5 separate regions of the Homo sapiens genome follow, and all the other regions are linked to region 1. The links are contacts of gene promoters, found by promoter capture Hi-C in blood cells and fetal thymus (Javierre and others, 2016). All regions are on one chromosome and are shown on one strand. Each heading gives the region's core, a stretch centred on a gene start or on the middle of the fragment in contact. The rest is flanking DNA. Distances are from core to core; before and after follow the strand shown.

Region 1 (2,834 bases), core at 113-2,612:
GGCCTTGCCCAGCTGGATGCCAGACCAAGGCAGCCGCTCAGAGCAGCCGCACTGGGCATCTGGACTAGGCGCCTCTGCAACCCCTGCTCACCTGCCCTCACCCAGAGCTCCTGGAGCGTGGGCCCCTGTCTCAGCCCCCAGTCCCAGCCCCTGCTCACCTGCCTTCACCCAGAGCTCCTGGAGCGTGGGCCCGTCTCAGCCCCCAGCCCCTGCTCACCTGCCCTCACCCAGAGTTCCTGGAGCATGGGCCCCTGTCTCAGCCCCCAGCCCCCAGCCCCTGCTCACCTGCCGTCACCCAGAGCTCCTGGAGCTCCTGTCATCTGGTGCCTCCCAGCCCCCAGCCCCTGCCCTCCAAGCAGTGACCGATCCATGAACACTGGACTCCCTGTGTGAGGGCGGGAGGGCCTGGCCAGCCAGGCAGGGTCCTGGAGGAACCGCCTGCTGGGTGTCCAGCTGGTGCAGCTGATGCTCCCCCCCACAGGACCTGACCACGCCTGCCGGAGCCTCCTCTCCCTCTCGGCAGCCCACAGCGGACACTGCTGTTTTCCTACCACACCTGCCGGCCCGGGGCCCATCAGCTGTCCCTGAATGAATGCGTGGATGAACGAATGAATGAACAGATAGCCACGGACATGCGATTTCCAACTCAAAATCCTGCCGTTGTTCTGGACTCCCCAGCTGGGGGCGAGGCAGGCTCTGACTCCGAGGCCGAGGTACTCACGGTTGGTCTGAGAGCGTCTCAGGAGAAGCCTTGGCCACGTGGGTGATGGGCACGAGCCCGGCGCTGGGCTGGCCCGAAAGCCTGCGTGCGAAGATGTAGCCGCCCCCCTCTTCGAGGGCACAGAGCCTGTCCCCGCGGCGGACACTCAGCTCCCCGCCACACCGCGCCGTGAAGTCATAGAGCGCAAGGAAGAGCTGAGGGAAGGGGCTGCAAGGCTCGGCGGGGAGCGTGGGCACTGGGTCAGTGTTGGGGTCCAGGGACCCGGGGGTGCCATGGTCCGGCTCGCCGCCCGCCGGCCAGATCTTGTCCCAGAAGAAGGACAGGAAGGCCAGCCGCCTCCTGAGGAACGGCTCCATCCCCCGGGGTCACCACGCTGGGCCCGAGGGCCATGGGAGCCCGCGAGCCCGGAAGAGGAACTGGCAGGGCCGGTGGGACCCGGTGTCCAGCGCTCCCTGCCCTGGCCGTGGGGTGACAGGGGACCCCGGCCCTGCGGTCACTCAGAGGTCCCCTGGATCCAGGAGGCACACGGTTCCCACCGGCGTCCGGGCTGGCGTTGGGGCTGGGTGGGGCGCAGGGCGGACCCCCTGCCTCAGGCACACCGACAGCACCTCCTGTCCTCGACCTCCTTGGCGTCTGGAGTGCACCGTCCCCTCCCCAACCCGACGGCAGAGGGCAGCTTGGGCTGGGGCGGGGGCGGGCTCCAGGAGGGGCCCGAGGAGGGCGGGGTGGGCAGGGCCAGCCTCTCTCCCGCCCTCTGCAAGGCCCAGGCAGGCGGAATGGCTCTGCCCAGTCAGGCCTGGCCCATGCCCAAGGGCACCACAGTCCAACAGCCGCCCGTGCCCACGGAGAAGTGGGGGTTCCACGGAGAAGCGCTGCTGTTCAGCACCTGCAGTGGTTGCCAAGCCTGAGCTGCACTCAGGTGAAAAATTGCCTGCTTATTTAAGTGTTGGCCAGATATTTTAACATCATTAACCCTGCACCAGGTGCCGAGCCTCCGGCCTCTGCAGTAAATTCTGAGGACAGGCGAGTGAGGGGGCTCTCAGCACCCCGGCTTTCATGCAGTAAAACGAGATGCTGATTGCAGGGAGCTCGGCCGCAGGCCAGGCACCCAGATGCCCCATGCTGCCCGATGACCGGCTTCTGAGTCAGTCAATGCCCAGGCCATACCCAAAGGCCACTGCGGGGAAGTGGAGGCTGCGGACGCCTGGCCCCAGTTCAGGGGGATGAGCACACGGAGAAGGGGCGGCGGGTGAGTCCCTGGCTGGGGACCTCCCACCCTCTCCCTGGACAGCGCCAAGCCCCCGCATGCTGAAGCAAACTCTGCCCGCTCAGGTAGGTCCCCAGATCGGGGCAGGACTGGGGGAGCAAATCCCAGCAAAACCCAGCAGCACGGTACAGGGTCCTGAGGCAGGAGGATGGGGTGGTGGCCATCTGCAGTCTCTCTCTCCTCCCACATCCCCTCCGGGTCCTGAGTGGGGTGGGGTGGGGGCCATCTGCAGTCTCTCACTCCTCCCACCTCCCCTCTGGGTCCTGAGGCACGGGGGTGGGGTGAGGCCATCTGCAGTCTCTCACTCCTCCTGCCGGCCTCCCCCAGCAGCCCCTTCCGCACCTGGGTGGCCTTCAGGGAGCCTCACGCCCCTTTCCCACATCTCACACGCATCCATGCCCCCACTTCATGCGTGTGGCTGAATGCATCCCTCCAATAGGCGTGACCAGTGTCCAGCCAATGACAAGCCCCTCGCACCTGCCTGCCCTGGAGTCACAGATGGGCTTCTCAGAAACCTCACGTCTGGGGACTGGTGTGTGCATTGTGGGGTGGCAGTGACACCCGTGGCCTGGCTCTCAGGGCACCCCAGCAGCCAAGCTGTGTCCGGGCTGATAGCCTGGAGCCAGCAGGGGCCCTGGGAGACTGGACATCGCCAGGCTCAGGGCAGGCTCTGCACCAGAGAGGTGCCCTGCTGGGGGTGGTGGGGGGTGTTGAGAAATGTGGAGAATTGTAAATACTACATTGGGGGTGGCCTTCGAGGGGCCCCAGCGCCTTCTCCTCCCGCGCTTCCCCCCGCCGCCCTCTCCTCCCGCCCCCGCCGCCCTCTCCTCCCCCCACCCGCTGCCC
Region 2 (2,834 bases), core at 139-2,638, 460 kb after region 1:
TGGGGTGAAGCCCAGCACTGCTTCATTTGGTTATTAGCAAACACTTACACGTTGCTTGAAGGGTCTGGTTTTTGAAATTAAGATGACAGCTACTTCCACTGGTGACTTAGGACACCTGCCAGCCAGGGAGCCTGGCAGTGCATGGTCTCTGTGAGCTCTGGGTCGCTGTTGGGCTGAGCTGACACCTTAGTCCTTTGTTGGGAGAATGGGCGTTTTGGGTGCTGATCTTGAGACCTGAGGAGGCTGAGTAACCTTAGGCATGGTGCTTGGCCTCTGAGCTTCCATGTCTTCCTCTGTAAAAGGGAAGAGGGCTTTCAGGATTGGGGAGGGTGCAGCATGTGAGCTTCCTGGCCAGGGTGGGGTGTCCCACGTGCAGAGTCCCCTGGGGAGGCCCGACTGGCAGCTCCCCTACAATAATGCACTCACATGCTGTGTACTCCGCTAGTTAATGCAGATGTGTGGAAGTGGAGTTATTTTACACTAACGCCATATGCTCTGGCCTGTGAAGCGTGGCATCCTTCAGTGGCCGTCGCCAGCGTGTCCCTCTGGGGGCACAGGAATGGCACAGTTCAGGTTGAGGGTCTTCCCTGCAGTCACGTGACCCCCGGAGAGCATGTTGGCCTCTGCACGGTCACGTCTTCATGGCTGTGTCTAGCATTCAGAATACTCTTCTGTTCTAGGCCAACTTCAGGGGTGTGTGCTTCCTCCACTTCTGCTCATAAAGTCACACTCCTTGAAGGCCATTGTATCATGGTGTGCCATGTGGCTTCCGAAAGCACCTGGGGAAGGTGACCTTGTTGGTTTTAGTGCCATGCCTGTGGGCTGCTGATGAGATGCCATGGAGATATGTCAGCTCTCTCCCAAAACTTGAAGACACAGAGTCCTGGGAGTCGTAAGTTAATGACTCCATAAATTGAGTCCCGCATGAATATTCTGTTCTTTAGAGACGCGAAGTTCATCTCCACCAATGTACAAAGTATTAAGGGAAGTAGTTCATATTTAGACAAATAGAGCACTCATCTCCCACGCAGTCGAGGTGAGAGCGCACAGGAAAAACAACTGGGTCGTTCTGTGTCTTCTCTCTATGCCTAGTCGCCTGGTTGGAGGTTAGGACTTTCCTTCTTTACTGCTGTGCCCTCTGCTGTCACCCTGCTTGGTCAGGGTTCTTGACCTGGATGAGTAACCCAAATCTTTTTTTTGTTTTAGACAGAGCCTCGTCCTATTGCCCAGGCTGGAGAGCAGTGTTGCAATCAGCTCACTGCAGCCTCAACCTCCTGGGCTGTAGTGATCCTCCTGCTTCTGGCTCTTGAGTAGCTGGGACCATAGGTACATACTACCATGCCTAAATAATTTTTATTTTGAGACAGGATCTTGCTCTGTTGCCTAGGCTGGAGTGCAGTGGCATGATCATGGGTCACTGAAGCCTCAACCTCCCAGACTCAAACTATCCTCCAGTCTCAGCTTCCTGAATAGCTGGGACTCCAGGGACATACCACCATGCCTGGCTGAGTTTTTAATTTTTCAAAGAGACGAGGTCTCCCTGTGTCATCCAGGCTGGTTTTAAACTCCTGGGCTCAAGTGATCCTCCCACCTCAGTCTCCCAAAATGCTGGGACTGCAGATGGGGGCCACTGTGCTCAGCCAGGACCCATATCTTTATCCCCAAAGGGTCTGACTTGTTGGTAGTTTTGCTTTTTTGGTGGCTGTAGTTCCCATTAACTTTTACTGGTAAAAGCAGAAATACTAAACTGTTTTTAGGACTGGCCTCTAGATAGTCTCCCACAGTGGGTGGCAGCAACTCAGTCTCGCTTTGGGAGTCAGGGTTAGCCTCTCCAGCCAGGGCTGGTACATGAGGAGGCCAGAGGGAGCTGTGGTCTGCACCCTGGTTGGCACATACTCCCTTTGGAGTAGCTCGTAGCTTGCTCTTTTTTTTTTTTTTTTTTGAGACTGAGTCTTGCTCTGTTGCCCAGGCTAGAGTGCAGTGGCGCAATCTCGGCTCACTGCAACCTCCGCCTCCTGGGTTCAAGGAATTCTCTTGCCTCAGCCTCCCAAGTAGATGGGATTACAGGCACCTGCCACCACACCCGACTAATTTTTGTATTTTTAATAGAGATGGGGTTTGGTTTCACTGTGTTGGCCAGGCTGGTCTCGAACTCCTGACCTCATGATCCACCCGCTTCAGCTTCCCAAAGTGCTGGGATTACAAATGTGAGCCACCACACCCGGCCTTTGGACCAGCTCTCTTGACAGGAGGGTCCAAGGAGGCGGAGACGGGACTCTTGGCAGTGGAGACGGGACTTGTGGCAGCGGAGATGGGACTTGAGCCATTCAGACATCACTGTTTATTCCTAGACCCGTGTGTTCTGGCTGTGAGATCCAGCCGGGATTGGTGTCTATTCACAGCATTTGTGGCATCCTACTGGGCTGCCAGGCCATGGCTCTGAGTGATGGGCACATGGTAAGACCATGTTCTGCCTGAATCGGTGAATTCATATAGCTTCGTCTTCTGGCCGTCTTTCAGTTGGTCAAGTGGACATCCAGATAATAAGGCCAGGGGTGTCAGTGCCAGTGTGCTGTGCAGAACCATGCGTAAACCACAGCAGACTTTTGTCTTCTCAGTCCCTTGACCCTAAGGGACTCCCCAGAGGTTGTCAGTGTGGGCTGAGGGAGGAAAGCGGTTGAGCAGCCACCAGTGCAGGAGGCATCTGCCCCATAGCTTAGGCAGCTGTGCTGCACCTGCCTTCCTTCCACACCATCTCCTGGGTGCCATTTCCACCCTATGAGGCCACTGCTGCATCTGCCCAACCTTGTGGCTTGGTCTGTCAGTAACACCTG
Region 3 (2,834 bases), core at 217-2,716, 400 kb after region 1:
CTAAGAGGAAGCAGAAGTGGGCCGGGCACAGGGCGGGCTCACACGTGCTGATAGGTGTCATACCCCAGAATGGGTAGCTTGTCCCCAGCCTCTCCCCGGGGGAACTAAAGCTTTGTGGGGTCAGGCCCCGCCCTGGCTCCTCCCCGAGGTGGTGCGCGGCCCCTCAAGAGAGGGGGGTGGGGGGCAAAGCTGGCTCAGTGTCTCTTGGCTGTCCCGTCCCGCCCCGCTGCCCAAGCCTGGGGATGGCCGGGGCAGCAGCAGGTCTAGGAGCGGGCAGGAAAAGGGCGGGGTGGAGGCAAGAAAGAGGTGGGACAGGGAGGAGGCAAAGCCGGAAAGGGGCATGACAGGGGCAGGGAATGGGGCGGGGCAGGAAAGGGGGTGATGCAGGGGCAGGAAGAGGAAAGCGACAGGCCACAGAATTGGGTGTGGCAGGGGAAGGAAAGAGGCAGGGCACGGAATTGGGTGTGGCAGGGCAGAAAAGAGGCGTGACAGCGGCAGGGAAAGGGGCGGGGCCGGGAATGGGGTGTGGCAGGGCAGAAAAGAGGCGTGACAGCGGCAGGGAAAGGGGCGGGGCCGGGAATGGGGTGTGGCAGGGCAGAAAAGAGGCGTGACAGCGGCAGGGAAAGGGGCGGGGCCGGGAATGGGGTGTGGCAGGGCAGAAAAGAGGCGTGACAGCGGCAGGGAAAGGGGCGGGGCCGGGAATGGGGTGTGGCAGGGCAGAAAAGAGGCGTGACAGCGGCAGGGAAAGGGGCGGGGCCGGGAATGGGGTGTGGCAGGGCAGAAAAGAGGCGTGACAGCGGCAGGGAAAGGGGCGGGGCCGGAAATGGGGTGTGGCAGGGCAGAAAAGAGGCGTGACAGCGGCAGGGAAAGGGGCGGGGCAGGAGCAGGAAAGAGGGCCTAGCGGGAGCAGCGGGGCAAGGGGCTACGGGAAGGCGGGTCACACAGCAGCACCACGGAGCACACTGCTCACATATCCCAACGTAGCTTCCTCTGCTTGCCAGGTGAAGAGCATGTTCAGGGAGGGAACAAGGCAGGAAACGGGGGTTTACAGAGAGAAGGAAGAGAACAAAGAGAAGGCTGCTTAGTTGGGGAGCAGGGCGTTCCCCGCAGGCCTGAGGAGGAGTGTGGGCGGTCAGGCCCCCAGCCCTGCCTGACCCTCCCTCCTGCCCCCGACCAAGGCTTCCTGGGGCTGAAGGAAGTGAGTGCAGCCACAGGCCAACACTTCCTTGGCTGACCAGACGACGGAAAATGTGTCTGGCTGCGTTCAGGTGTTTTTCCAAGTTTGAAACCCTGGAAAGTTTTTCCTCTCAGAACAAAAGCTTCAGGAGGAACCTGACGGGACAAGACCTGCGGGTTCCTAGGCCGAGGAGAGGGCCAAGCGGAGACTCATGCAGGCACCGGAAGCTGGACGGCTGGTGGACGGGCCCTGGAGGCATTTCCAACATTTGGCAAACTCTTTGGAGGGCTCTGAATGTGAGGGCTCTCCCTCCAGGTGGCTCAGTCAGGAGCCTCCCAACCCACAGAAGGCAGGGAGAAGGGCAGGTCCCTTGTGGCTGACCCCCCTGCATGCCTGCCCTTGGGGAGGGACAGTGGGATGCGGCCCCGGCCCAGCCCAAGCTTCTTGCTGCAGTTGCCCAGTTCCTGCTGGCAGAGCTGTGCGGGCTGCGAGGACAGAGCTGGGGCAAGCAGGACCCGGGTGGGTGGGAGGACAGGCGCGAGGCCCTCCACCTGCAACCAGGGAAAGCTGACTGGTCCGTGAGGCTGGGCACAGGAGGTACAGCAGGCTCCCTGGCTGCTGGGACATGTCTGTAGTCACTGCCCCAGAGGCCTGGCAGTGCTGGCTCAGGAGGACAGCTGTGCTCTCTGGGGTCAAATCCCATAGACAGACTCAGGAGTCAGGGGAGCCTCCAGCAAAGTCTGGCCAGGACAGGGTCAGGACTCCGTGACGCTGGGCAAGCTACTTCACGTCTCTGTGCCTCAGTGTCCTCATCTGCCAGCAAGGGGAGGCAGAAGCAGGGCTGGGACCACTCCACACCACCCCTTCTGTGACTGGGGAAGAGCCAGCTGCCTGGCTGGATCACAGCCCAGACCCCAGAGCTCCTTGGAGGTGTTGGAAGTGCCTCCATCTGTGCAGACAGCTGTGCAAGTCTTACCTGACGCTGAGTTCACGCTGTGGCAGCAACACAGGAAGACACAAGGGAACGGTGGCGCGTCAGTGACCAGGGCAGGCGGCCAGGCCACCCCCACCCAGGAATGGACATGCTGCAGGCCCGCGGGGACACAGCCAGCCATGGGGGGTGGCAAGCTTCTAATGCCTGTAACCTGGGGACCACCTGGGCCAGACCTGCAGTTCTGCGTTGGGGCAATCAGAGCCAGGACCCTGGGCTCTGTTCTGCAGGCCTCAGGCCTTCAACATCCTGGTAGGGAGTGTGTTCAGAGCCACTCAGGCTCCAAGGCCCAGCCATAGAATGCCTCAGGGAGCAGGGGACCTCTGGTGGGGGTGTCGCTCCTGGGGTGACCCCCTGAGAAAGAGAGGAGCCTGGCCTGGCGTGGGACTCAGCAGTGAAACCCCACAATCCTGGGCCAGCAGGTCATGCCTGTCTTCCCAAAAGCTCAGGCTGGGTGTGCTGAGCGGGCTGCACCCTCGGCTGGGTCCTGAGCACCTGTACCCCCACCCCAGCTTCCTCAGGGAACCCAGGCCCTGCACAGCACAACGGGATGGGGTCTGGGCTGGACAATCTGACTGGCCAAGCAGGCTCAGGACACTCAGGGCTGGCACCTGGCAGGGGACAGTGAACGCAGGGGGATGAGGTGACCAGGCCACTGGGGGTGGT
Region 4 (2,834 bases), core at 138-2,637, 350 kb after region 1:
TGGTCTCGATCTCCTGACCTTGTGATCCGCCCATCTTGGCCTCCCAAAGTGCTGGGATTGCAGGTGTGAGCCACTGCGCCTGGGCTTTTTTTTTTTTTTTTTTTTGGTTGGGGGACGGAGTCTCACTCTGTCACCCAGGCTTGAGTACAACGGTACGGTTTCCGCTCATGGCAACCTCTGCCTCCTAGGTTCAAGTGATTCTCCTGCCTCAGCCTCCTGGGTTGCTGGGATTACAGGCGCCTGCCATGACACCCGGCTAATTTTTGTATTTTTAGTAGAGATGGGGTTTTGCCATGTTGGCCAGGCTGGTCTTGAACTCCTGACCTCAGGTGATCCACCCACTTTGGCCTCCCAAAGTGCTGGGATTATAGGCGTGAGCCACTGAGCCCAGCCCCAAGTTGGTCTTGAGCTCCTGGACTCAAGTGATCGTCCAACCAGCATCTCATTTTCTAAAGAAAGAAGTACTTAGACCAGGTTTGGGACATGTCTCTGAAAATTCTGGGCTGGTGCAGTGGCTCATGCCTGTAATCCCAGCACTTTGAGAGGCCGAGGCAGGCGGATTGCTAGAGTCCAGAAGTGAAGACCAGGCTGGGCAACATAGCAAAACCCCATCTGTACTAAAACTAGAAACAATTAGCCGGGTATGGTGACATGCAGCTGTAGTCCCAGCTACTCGGAGGCTGAGGTGGTAGGATCACCTGAGCCTGGGAGGCTGAGGCTGCAGCAAGCCATGATTGCTCCACTGCACTCCAGCCTGGGCGACAGAGCAAGACACTGTCTCAAAAAAAAAAAAAAAAAAAAAAAGGAAGTTCTGTATTGATCAATAATTTCCTCCTCAGGACAGACCTGCATATGCCACAATTTAACTTTGTTGCAACATCATTCTACATTTTGCATGAATGGTTTCAAAAAACTTATTTCTATGACAGAGAACTTTGTCATTTATTCTTGACATATTAAACCTGAGTGACATTTTTAAATTTTTGTGTTGTGTTGTGAGTGCTTAGTGAAGATTCCTTGAATATGGATGTGAATGAATCTTATTTTTCATGGGTTTATAATTGTATTGTCCCTTTAAATATTCTACATTGAACATGTATCACCAGCAGAAATAATCATTTACGAGGTGAAGTGTCCAGAGCCATGTAGTGTCTGCATTGCTGTGTCCAGGGATTCTTTGTTTGTTTGAGACGGAGTCTCGCTCTGTCATCCAGGCTGGAGTGCAGTGGCACGATCGTGTCTCACTGCCGCTTCCACCTCCCGGGTTCAAGTGATTCTTCTGCCTCAGCCTCTTGAGTAACTGGAATTACAGGCGTGTGCCACCACGCCCAGCTAATTTTTGTATTTTTAGTAGAGATGGGGTTTCACCATGTTGTCCAGGCTGGTCTCAAACTCCTGAACTCAAGTAATCAACCCACCTTGGCCTCCCAAGGTGCTGGGTTTACAGGCATGAGCCACTGTGCTCAATCTGCGTTCTGAGGCATTCTGTGCCTGTTATGAAATCATGATGCTGGCAGGTCGGAAGATGGAATCGACTTCCCAGCCCCATCGGCTGTGCCCTGCCCTCCTTGCTGTCTCTAGAGCGCGGCTGACTTCGGGGAGAGCTCTCCCTGCCCTGTGCCTCTATTTTTTCACCAGGTAGGGTGGAAATGTGTTCTAGTGAAACTGCAGAACGAAAATATCCCGTCTTACTCTTGACCCTTGAAGAAGCAGGAGCTGAATTCAGGTGCCAGAGGCTGCGTCCGCGCGCTCCACATCAGTCTCAGAGTGGAGGCGAGCCCAGGCCAGAGGCCTCTACCCCGGACGAGGCTGCAGGTGCCTGACGGGAGGAGTGACTGCAGCTCAGCAGAGGGAGTGTGTGGAGTGTGCGGCCCTGCCTGGCTTTTATTTTGCTCCTCCTGTTATTGGGAGGGATTAGCAGCAGAGCGAATGTTTGGATCTTTGCTGAGCAGTCCCATCGGATTTTTCTTTATTAAATAGGATTGTGTTTTATTGTAAGAAGGTTTCCCTAAGACAAATAACGAAGGAAATTCTGGGTCCAGGAGTACAGACTGTAGCTTCTGTCATCTCTTGCCAAGTTCGTAGCCCTCAGATGGTGTCTGTCTTTCCCCTTTGCTTGCGGGGCCTTTTACCACAGCACTTTGGTGTTCTTTTAGCTGCTGCGATAGGACTAGCTGTTAAAATCTGAGATTTTACATTTTTGCCAGTCGCAATAAATTTTGTTAGTTCTTTCTTGATGTGTTCTTTAAAATAATAATGCTTTTTTTTTTTGGGTGGGGGACAGAGTCTTGTGCTGTCGCCCAGGCTGGAGTGCAGTGACGCGATCTCGGCTCACTGCAAGCTCCGCCTCCCGGGTTCACGCCATTCCCCTGCCTCAGCCTCCCGAGTAGCTGGGACTACAGGCGCCCGCCACCACGCCCGGCTAATTTTTCGTATTTTTAGTAGAGATGGGGTTTCACCGTGTTAGCCAGGATGGTCTCGATCTCCTGACCTTGTGATCCGCCCAGCTCGGCCTCCGAAAGTGCTGGGATTACAGGCGTGAGCCACTGCTCCTGGCCTCATCTTTTTTTTTTTTTTTTTTTTTTTTGAGACGGAGTTTCACTCTTGTTTCCCAGGCTGGTGGAGTGCAACGGTGTGATCTTGGCTCACCGCAACCTCTGCCTTCTGGGTTCAAGTGATTCTCCAGCCTCAGCCTCCTGAGTAGCTGGGATTACAGGCGTGTGCCACCACACCCAGCTAATTTTGTATTTTTAGTAGAGATGGGGTTTCTCCATGTTGGTCAGGCTGGTCTCGACCTCCCAACCTCAGGTGATCCACTCACCTCGGCCTCCCAA
Region 5 (2,834 bases), core at 212-2,711, 280 kb after region 1:
CAGCGTGAGTGCCAGCAGCAGAGATGTATCCAGTCTGTTACCCAAACGGGAAGTTAGCTCTGATAATAGAGCCAATATGAAAGATTCTACAATCGATACAATTAAAATGCCCGTGAGTTCTCGGCGCACAGGTGTCTGCGCCCAGGCCGCGCGCTAAACACGTTTCTAATTAGCATTTCTTTAAACAATGCTGATCACAATCTTGCCACCGTAATCCACTCCAAATGCATCGTTGAGATTGCAGCACGGAAAGCGAGAGAGGAAATTCGCTGCGAATCTCAAACTTTCTTTTGTTTATATTTCTTCGCTGTCAGAAAATATCCGTTCTTCGCCCCATCTGGTCTGTACCCTGGCTCCTCGGTCCAGCCCTATTGTGTGTGCTTCGTTAAACCTACAAACAGTGAATCTGTCAGCGGGGCCAGGGGAACCCCAACTAGCAGGAGCCCTCCCTCTGGCGCAGAGAATTCCCCGTTTGCCTTAGGGATTGAGTTGTCAGACACCGGCTCGCGCTCCCCCGCGAAACTGACATGTCTATTTACAGAGAAACAAAGACGCGGCTCGCAGCGGACCCCGCTTCCTCCGCGCGCCCCGTCCGCCCCGCGCGCCCCGAGCCCTCCGCGCCCCGAGCCGCCCCGCCCCGAGGCCCCTGCGCCCCGGTTCGGCCGGCGATTAAGATGGAGACCAGGCCGGCGCCCGGCGTCCGGGGAGACAATGACCCCCCGGCCTCAGGGCGCCGGGACCCGCCCGCGCCCACCTCCCGCAGTTCCGACTCTTGGCAAACTCGGCGCGGGCGGCTCCGGGTGCGGCTGGGCTGTGCCGGCGGGGGGCGCGGGCGGGGGGCGCCAAGACGCCCCCGGGCTGCCTCGGGGCCAGGCGTTGACGCAGCAGAAATTACCAGCTGGAAAATTCCCCTCTCGGAGGTGCCGGGGAGGGAGCGCGGCGGCGGCGGGAGGTGCCGGGGGCCGAGGGGCCGGGGCAGCCCAGCCGCCTCCGCGCTCAGCCCCGCGGGGAACCCGCGCCGCCCCCGCGCGCCCCGCCCCGCGCCGCCGGCCTGGGGGGCACCCGCGGGGGCCGGGCCGGGGTCTCCGCCGCCGCCCCCGGAGCCCGCGCCGCAGCTGGGAGCGCCGATGGCCCCCGGGAGGGCGCCCCCGCGGGGCGGGGCGTGGCGGGGCGGCCGGCGGCGGGGGCGCGCCCGGGCTCGCAGCGGCCCCGGCTCCCGGCTCCCGGCTCCGGGCCCGGCCCCCGCCGCGATGCGCCCGCCCGGCCGCGCGGACAATGAGCCGGCGCCGCTTACCTGTGACCCCATGGGGCGCGGGCGAGGGCGGGCGCCGCGGCCGCCGGGCCGGCGCCGGTGATCGCCGCCGCCGCCGGGAGGGCGCTGCGTCCGGGCGGGTCCGAGCTGCGCGCTCGCCGGGGCTGCTCGGTCCGTCCGTCCGTCCGTCGGTCCGTCAGGCCGGCGCGCGCCCCCGCGCCCGCTCCAACCCCGCGGCCCCCGCCGCCCGCGCGCGCGCGCCCCGCCCGCGGACCCTGACCCCGCCCCCCGGCGCGCGCCCGGCCGCCGCTGATTGGCCCGCGCCGCGCCCCGGCCGCGGCCACCGCCCCGGGCCCCGCCCACGCCGGCCCGGCCGCCGGCCCCGCCCCTCGCTCGGCTCCCGGCGCCGCGCCGCGGGGTCGCAGGGGGCCGCGCCGGGGGTCCGTTCTCCCCCCCGCGGGCAGCCGGACAGCGGAAGTGCGGGCTGGAGCTCGCTGGGCATTGTGGGAAGCCCCCTCCCCTGGGCTGGCGGGGGGCTGGGGCGGCGCGGCGCGGGGGTCCCCCTGGCCCCCGCTGCGCCCTTGCCCCGCGAGCGCGGAGCAGCCTGGAAACACCCCACGGGAGCGGCGACCCCGGCGAGGGCACCCGCTCCCTTCCCGGGCCGCGCACCGGGCGCTGCCCACGCGCAGGTTCCTCGGGGGCGCGCGGGTGCCCAGGTCACCGGCCGTCCCCGCGCCTGACGCGCGGTTGCACTGCGCGCGTCTCGCAAACTTGGCGACTCCCCCAGCCCGGCCGGGCATCAACGCGGGCCGCTCGCGGTGCGGAAAAGGCGCCCCCAAGGAAGGCCGCCCGGGGTGCGGGGTCTGGAAGGGCCTGGGCACCGCGCGCGCCTACCCTCGGGGGCCTCGGCGCACCCGGAGATCGGCGCACCTCGGGCGCAGGCCTCGTGGGGGTGCCCGCCAGTGGGGCTCGCTTTTGGCTGACTAGGGGCACCGGCGGCCGCGCGTGGGTCCCTCCCGTCGTGTTGTCTGCGGGGGACGAATGGCTCCGGGAGGGGGCGGGAACCAGCGGCCCGGGCCTCGCCCCAGCCCGTGTGCAGCCCCGATCCGAACGGCCTGGGACGCGTCTCCACCACTCGGCGCCCGGACTCTGCGCGTCGCTTCTCGCCTCCGCCGTCCTCAGCCCTCGGGCGGGTAGAGTGGGAAGCGCGGCCCCGCATTCCTGGCCGGCCTGCGCAGGGGTAAAGGCCACCTCGCTTCCTCTCCCCGGGCGCGGCGGGAAGGGAGGTGAGCCTGTGGCCGGCAGCCGCGCGAGGGAGTCGAGCCCGGCCCGGCCAACCAATGGGGAGGCGCCCGGGCCGTCCAGCCTGCCTCCCTGCGGGCCCAGCGCAGCGGATTCCTCGGGAGGTGGGAGGCGGCGGCCCTATGGGTGCTTTCAAATCTGGATGTGTGAGGCGCATTCAGGAGCGGCAGTGGGAGGCGGCTGAGGGCTCTCCATGAGTGAGCAAAGGCGAAGCGAGGTGTGGCTGCCGGGACCAACGCCTGGGACACTCCCTTACTGCCGTCGCGGGCGCCTGGAAATG

The links. The method cuts DNA at HindIII sites, captures the fragments that hold promoters and counts their contacts. A CHiCAGO score of 5 or more calls a contact.
Region 2: a fragment that was not itself captured here is called in contact with the fragment with the promoter of SRMS in region 1 in 8 of 17 cell types (naive CD4 T cells, erythroblasts, activated CD4 T cells and 5 more); the score reaches 8.3 in naive CD4 T cells.
Region 3: a fragment that was not itself captured here is called in contact with the fragment with the promoter of SRMS in region 1 in 4 of 17 cell types (total CD8 T cells, non-activated CD4 T cells, fetal thymus and 1 more); the score reaches 7.0 in total CD8 T cells.
Region 4: a fragment that was not itself captured here is called in contact with the fragment with the promoter of SRMS in region 1 in 6 of 17 cell types (total CD4 T cells, naive CD4 T cells, naive CD8 T cells and 3 more); the score reaches 6.9 in total CD4 T cells.
Region 5: the fragment with the promoter of ZBTB46 here is called in contact with the fragment with the promoter of SRMS in region 1 in 2 of 17 cell types (total CD8 T cells and neutrophils); the score reaches 5.5 in total CD8 T cells.

Annotation. Positions count from the first base shown.
Region 1 is chr20:63,546,387-63,549,220 of GRCh38, forward strand. It overlaps SRMS (src-related kinase lacking C-terminal regulatory tyrosine and N-terminal myristylation sites), which reads right to left and starts at 1,363. Exons shown (of 8, transcript NM_080823.4): 1 at 722-1,363. The coding sequence starts at 1,077. RefSeq lists an enhancer at 436-1,077. The HindIII fragment of the contact is 15,344 bases long and covers 1-2,834 here.
Region 2 is chr20:64,004,393-64,007,226 of GRCh38, forward strand. All of the region lies in intron 9 of PRPF6 (pre-mRNA processing factor 6), which reads left to right. Among named protein-coding and RNA genes, the nearest start is that of PRPF6, 25 kb to the left of the region's middle. RefSeq lists a silencer at 702-874. The HindIII fragment of the contact is 5,259 bases long and covers 1-2,834 here.
Region 3 is chr20:63,941,500-63,944,333 of GRCh38, forward strand. UCKL1 (uridine-cytidine kinase 1 like 1) reads right to left here. Exons shown (of 15, transcript NM_017859.4): 8 at 2,154-2,170. MIR647 (microRNA 647) reads right to left here and starts at 1,227; the gene lies at 1,132-1,227. It overlaps MIR1914 (microRNA 1914), which reads right to left and starts at 45; the gene lies at 1-45. RefSeq lists enhancers at 819-1,532, 1,533-2,244. The HindIII fragment of the contact is 298 bases long and covers 1,318-1,615 here.
Region 4 is chr20:63,899,796-63,902,629 of GRCh38, forward strand. All of the region lies in intron 1 of DNAJC5 (DnaJ heat shock protein family (Hsp40) member C5), which reads left to right. Among named protein-coding and RNA genes, the nearest start is that of DNAJC5, 6.1 kb to the left of the region's middle. The HindIII fragment of the contact is 9,931 bases long and covers 1-2,834 here.
Region 5 is chr20:63,829,803-63,832,636 of GRCh38, forward strand. ZBTB46 (zinc finger and BTB domain containing 46) reads right to left here and starts at 1,462. Exons shown (of 5, transcript NM_001369741.1): 1 at 1,295-1,462. RefSeq lists a silencer at 1,480-1,619. The HindIII fragment of the contact is 15,017 bases long and covers 1-2,834 here.